Linked DNA regions of Homo sapiens: region 2 is linked to region 1. The links are contacts of gene promoters, found by promoter capture Hi-C in blood cells and fetal thymus (Javierre and others, 2016). All regions are on one chromosome and are shown on one strand. Each heading gives the region's core, a stretch centred on a gene start or on the middle of the fragment in contact. The rest is flanking DNA. Distances are from core to core; before and after follow the strand shown. Region 1 holds the start of NPTN (neuroplastin). Region 2 holds the start of PARP6 (poly(ADP-ribose) polymerase family member 6).

The links. The method cuts DNA at HindIII sites, captures the fragments that hold promoters and counts their contacts. A CHiCAGO score of 5 or more calls a contact.
Region 2: a fragment that was not itself captured here is called in contact with the fragment with the promoter of NPTN in region 1 in 1 of 17 cell types (naive B cells); the score reaches 5.1 in naive B cells.

What each region holds. Positions count from the first base shown.
Region 1 is chr15:73,632,048-73,634,739 of GRCh38, reverse strand. It overlaps NPTN (neuroplastin), which reads left to right and starts at 1,351. Exons shown (of 9, transcript NM_012428.4): 1 at 1,351-1,615. The coding sequence starts at 1,525. RefSeq lists silencers at 1,195-1,494, 1,575-1,834. The HindIII fragment of the contact is 2,824 bases long and covers 1,076-2,692 here.
Region 2 is chr15:72,272,494-72,275,185 of GRCh38, reverse strand. PARP6 (poly(ADP-ribose) polymerase family member 6) reads left to right here and starts at 2,632. Exons shown (of 24, transcript NM_001323532.2): 1 at 2,632-2,692. RefSeq lists enhancers at 2,130-2,219, 2,280-2,329 and a silencer at 2,470-2,692. The HindIII fragment of the contact is 1,151 bases long and covers 867-2,017 here.

The DNA of each region.
Region 1 (2,692 bases), core at 102-2,601:
TGGGCTGTCTGCAGAATGGCCTTTGTCCAGATGAAGGTACATGCCAATCTTTTTGTCACTCACACACCTGAGGTTTTGAAGGACATAGTTTTCACTTCAATCAACAACATGCCATAGTGGTCCTGGCCTTTGCTAGAAATTTTGGTCTGGAACCACCAGCTGTTCAGTTCCTGTTGAAAGTTCCAGACCACTTTAGCTTGATAGAGATTGCGAGGGTCTCCTTCTTCCAGGTCCTCCAAACCCTCTCTTTAAATCAAGTCAGGCCACCAGGACTGTTTACTTGGCCCCTCAGAGTTTCCACAGACACTCCCAGGACGTCTGCTGTGAGTCAGGGATGAGCTAAGCCATAGAAATTCCTTTGCCAACCACAAGCCCTGAGGGTAGTACAAAAAATACCCCTAAAAAGAGCATTTCCCAAACTTCTATGCAAACAGTAGTAACCACACTGCCAATCACCCTCCAGAGTGCTTTGCTAGATCCTTTCCTATGGGGCCATTTGACCCTTCCTCACTCCTCTGCTAGCCTAGGCAGTGCACTCCATGAGGACGGGGACTACCTTTTCATGTGGGTTTCACTATGTGCCTGGCACACAGCACGTTCTCAATAAATGTTTTCCGCATTAAGACGCTTCTTAGGAGTCTTCATGTAAGTTCATACACGACTTCCTTGTAGAATTGTGTCAATGAACATGCAATTAGGCTAGCTGAACTTCAGGCCCTGAGAGTCTATGAAGCTAAAATAAGGCCCAGATGTGGGGTGGGAGGGGGAGTAGGCAGAGGCGGCAAAGGAGGACATTTCAGGCAAAGGGAGCAGATGTCCAGGCAGGAAAGCACAAGGTAACGGGGGCACAGGGGGCGCACCACTTTTCCTGGAAGGAAAAAACAGCAGATGAGAGAAGGAGGTTGGAGCCAGTTACCAGTAGAGGTCTATGTTCAAAGTCCAGAAGGAAGAAACAGCAGGACGGGGACAAAGAGAGGAAGGAGGAAAGGAGGCACGGTGTATGAAACTCTGTAGCCAAGAGCGCTAACAAATGAAAGGCAGGATGGGTGGAGGAAATGTACTGTGTTCCAAAGCTTCCTCTTATTTATGGGTGCTCCCGGGCCACAGAGGAGTAAACTGAAGGACTTCCCAGCTCCCCACTGCCCAGAGAGCTAGCGGAGTCCCGCCTCGCCCCGTCACATGGCCAGAGGCGCCCTCGGCACGTGACCTACCTCGCGCTAGGCCAATCAGCCTCTGCAGGGGCGGGGCCACCGAGTCCGCGGGGCGGGAGTCTCCGTCGGAGCCGCCTCTTCTCGCGATCCTTGCGGCGGTCGCTCCTCAGCCGCCCACGACCCGGAGCGAAGGTCTCGCGAGGCCTGGGCGCTGCGGCGGCAGGAGGAGGACGGGGAAGGACGGAGCCGAGCCGCGGCTGCCTCCCTCGCTCACTCCCTCGCGCACTCGCCCGCCCCCTCCCTCCCTCCCCTCCCTTCCCCGGCCCCGGCTCTGGCCCCGGCCCATTCGCTGTTGGGTCTTCTGCTAGGGAGGATGTCGGGTTCGTCGCTGCCCAGCGCCCTGGCCCTCTCGCTGTTGCTGGTCTCTGGCTCCCTCCTCCCAGGGCCAGGCGCCGCTCAGAACGGTAAGCGGGGCGCCGGGGGCGGGCCGGGCGGGGGTTGAGGGGCGCCGGGGCCGGAGGGGGCCCGGCTCTGGCCTGAGGAGACGCTGGAGCTCGGGGAAGGGGGCCGAGTGGGCGTCTGAGGGGCTGCGGGTCCGAGAGGAGGTACCGGCTGCGGGTTTGAGGAGGCGCGGGTGTGAGGACCGGAGGCTCCTATCCGAGCGGCGGGGGCGTCCGGGGTGAGCCCGAGGTGTTGCCCACTCGGAGGCTCCACGTCGTGGGGCTCGTCGTGCCGGGTCGGCGAGGGGACACGGAGGAAGCCGACGTGGGGAGCTGGAGTAGCGGGGGCGGATGAGGAGGGGGCGCAGCTCTTAGGGAGGGTGGCACAAGACCGGCGTTTGTGTTCCGGGCGACGGGGATGGTGGTGTCCGTCAGGCCCCCCGGGAGCTGGGGTCGTCCAGGATTCTACTGAGGCCCCGTAGGACTGGTGACATCCTTAAAAATAAGGGGGAAATTGGGGGGAAGAGAGTCCTGAGGAACACTAATGGTGAGCTGAGTACTAGAGACCAAAGGAGGGGGTAAAGAATCAGGGAACCTTGGATCTAGGGATAGAGGGAAGGTGGGTGGGAAGATGAGGGAGTGGGTTGACTGCAGTAGGGGACCTGGAGAGAGAAGCAGCAGTGTCTCCAAATGAGCTGGGGGAAGAGGGCTGGGTTTGCTAAAGAGGGTGGAGTGCTGGGCATTCTAGGGTAGTGGTTGGGAGAGCAAAAAGGAGTTTCTAAATAAGGAGAGGAAAATGAGCAGAGGATGGAGGGAAAGGGTTGGAACTGAGGTGGGGGAATATTTATTAGAGAAGTAAGGAGGCCTGGGTATAGAGATGGGGGTGGGGGAAGACGAAAAATAAGGGAAGGGAGTAAAATGCAGGAAGTCGGGGGTGTAATGTTGGTTTGCAGTGTGGAGGATAAATTAGGGAAGGGAGGAGTTGGGATGTGGCAAATGCTGTATGATATTGGTCGGGCCTTTGGGAAAACAGGGACACATAGCTGCAACTAATTGCAGTGGTGGGATTGAGGGCAGTGACTGGCGACAGGGAGATGGGGA
Region 2 (2,692 bases), core at 193-2,692, 1.4 Mb after region 1:
GGATGGTGGGAGAGGCTGACATGGGAAGGGTTGCTGGGTACACTGAGGACTCTGCTGAGGAGACAATGAATTTGTAGGAGCTCTGTACTGAGTGCACATTAAGTTAGCTTAAGCCATTTATTCTAGATAAAAACTGACTCCTAGTCCCTCAAGATCAGAGGGCCTCAGAAAGTGCCTTGGGCAGGGTATAGTGGCTCACACCTGTAATCCCAGTACTTTGGGAGGACAAGATGGAGGACTGCTTGGGCCCAGGAGTTCAAGATCAGCCTGGGCAACATAGGGAGACCCCATCTCTGCAAAAAAAAATTAATTAGCCAGATATGTTAGTGCATGCTTAAGCCTTGGAGGCTGCAGTAAGCTATGATCACACCACTGTACTCCAGCCTGAGTAACACAGTGAGACCCTGTCTCAAAAAAAAAAAAAAAAAAAAAAGAAGGAAGGAAGGGAGGGGTGCCTGGGAAGCTGCCAGAAAGCAGAGAGTAGTCTCACCATTTCTGGTCTCTGCCTCTCCATGCTTCATTCTGTGTCCCCAGATGGTCTTTTTCCTTTTCTCATTCATCATAGTAGGTGGGAGGTAGATGTACCATAGCTCCTAAGTCTATGTCTCTTTTGCTTAAGAAACCAGTCCAGTTAGAATCATAATCTGTCAGCTCTAATCCCAGATTTTCAGGAGAACATCTGTTTAACACAGCTTAGACCAGGAATCCACTCACAGTTCAATAAACTGCAGCTAAAGTGCTAGAGGTCACACAAGACGAACATGGCCCTGGGGCCTGTGGATCCATAGTGTGGGTGTGGAAACGATAATTCCCACAGAATAGGGTTCATGGGCTAGACTAACCTAAATGGTGTCCACTCACAAGCTTAAGTGTGCAGGATTGGATGACTTCCTTTATCCTGGTTTAGGATGGGAGAGTAGAGAAGGTAGATAGCTGGCATGACCCAGGAGTGTGATTTTTACAGAGTAAGTGCAAGCATATTAACAAAGATGTGATTAAAATGACTGACCAAGGATGTGGACTGGGTAGGAAAAGAGGTGAAGCCTGGAAGATACTGGTAAACTATGAGGTGGCTGAGATTCATGATGAATAGAAGAGCTAGTGGTGGTATGCTGGAAAGGGGGAATCCTAAAGGTTATTGAATACTGGAGTTGGACTTGTCACTCATGGGCACAGTGCTTATGTTCAAACACTCCCATACATACTTGGTTCTCAAAAGCTATTACGGGGCCCTTGATGGTGAGTTGTTTTAGAGAGCAGGCCTGACTCCTTCCCCTACCACTCTGAACTTCCGCACTCTGAAACCGAGGTTATATTGATCCCTCACTTTTTTCAGTTACTATAAGCAGTAGATGTAACAAACTCACACCGAGACGGTGTTGTGGCCCAGGCTGAGTGGCAAGGTGAGCAGAGGGGGACATCAAAAGGGGAAGGAGTTAGAAAGGAGAGGCTGAGAATGTGCAAATGTAAATCAACCAACAACAAAAAGTTAACTGGGAAACTTCTGAGGCCAGCTTAGGAGGGATAGACATGACGTGTTTATATCATTCAGGGCCAAAGCCTTCTTTGTGTGTACTGTGTCCAGCTACAAAGAGGGAGTGAGGAAACAGAGTAGGTCTAAGATAAGCCTTTTCCCATTAGTGTTGATGGAAAAGAGGGTCACGTGGAAGCCCCAAGACTAATAAGGATGAAGGAGATCTGGCCATGTCTAGGGTTAATAACCACAATAACCACAATTACAGCTTCCATGTATGAACTACTTCCTAGTCCCAAGTACTCTGCTGGTTACTTTACATGGATTAGTTGGAATCGTATGAAATTGAAGGTATCTGACTGTTTATAAACTGCAAAAATAGCAATTTCCTACGGTTCAACCTAACACTATCTCAGTTCATCCTCACCACAACGGCTCCGTGAAACACATATTACTGTCTCCACCTCAAAGAGGAGAAATCAGATTCACAAAGTGAAAGTCATCGCTTAAGGCTGCACCATCAATAAGTGCCGAACCCAAGCTTCAGACCCAGATTGACTAGAAGGCCAGGGTGCTCTCCATCACGCTGCAGCTACCGGGGAACAAATGAGTTAAATGCCAGAATTTTTAAAAGCCCGAGGTGTTCGACTTCCATTGTCGAACCAGAGAATCCTGCAGTCAGCAAGGCCTCAGGACTTCCCTCAGTCTCTACCTGCCGGCCCCAACCTCCGGCGAGGGGACTCCCTCCCGGCCTACAGGCAACCTGGGTTGCCCTTCCTGCTTGTTCCTCCCAACCACTCGGGGCGCTAAATGCAAGTATTCTCCTTTGGAAGGCTCCCCGCACTCCCCCAGAGTCCCTCTTCCTTCTCCACTGCCTCCCCTACCCACGGCGCAGGCGCCACCCCCCACTCCGCACCCTTTCCCGACTAGCGACCGCCGCGCAGGCGTCTCAAGGCTGGCGTCGGCTGCTGAGGCGCGCCCAGGAGCAGGCCGTCAGGCTGTTGGTCAGGAGCGGGCCACGTGCCATCGTGTCACCGCGCGAGCGTGCGCAGAGTGGCTGAGCGCGCCCGTGACGGAACGACGAGGCGTGGGGTGCGCGACCTCGCCCGCCAGGCCCGGCCCCCGCCCCTTGGCCTGCCGCTCCGCCCCCGCGGGGCGTCCCGGGCCGCTCGTCCCGTCGGCTGCGGCCGCGCGCGGCCCGGGGTCGCCGTGAGTACT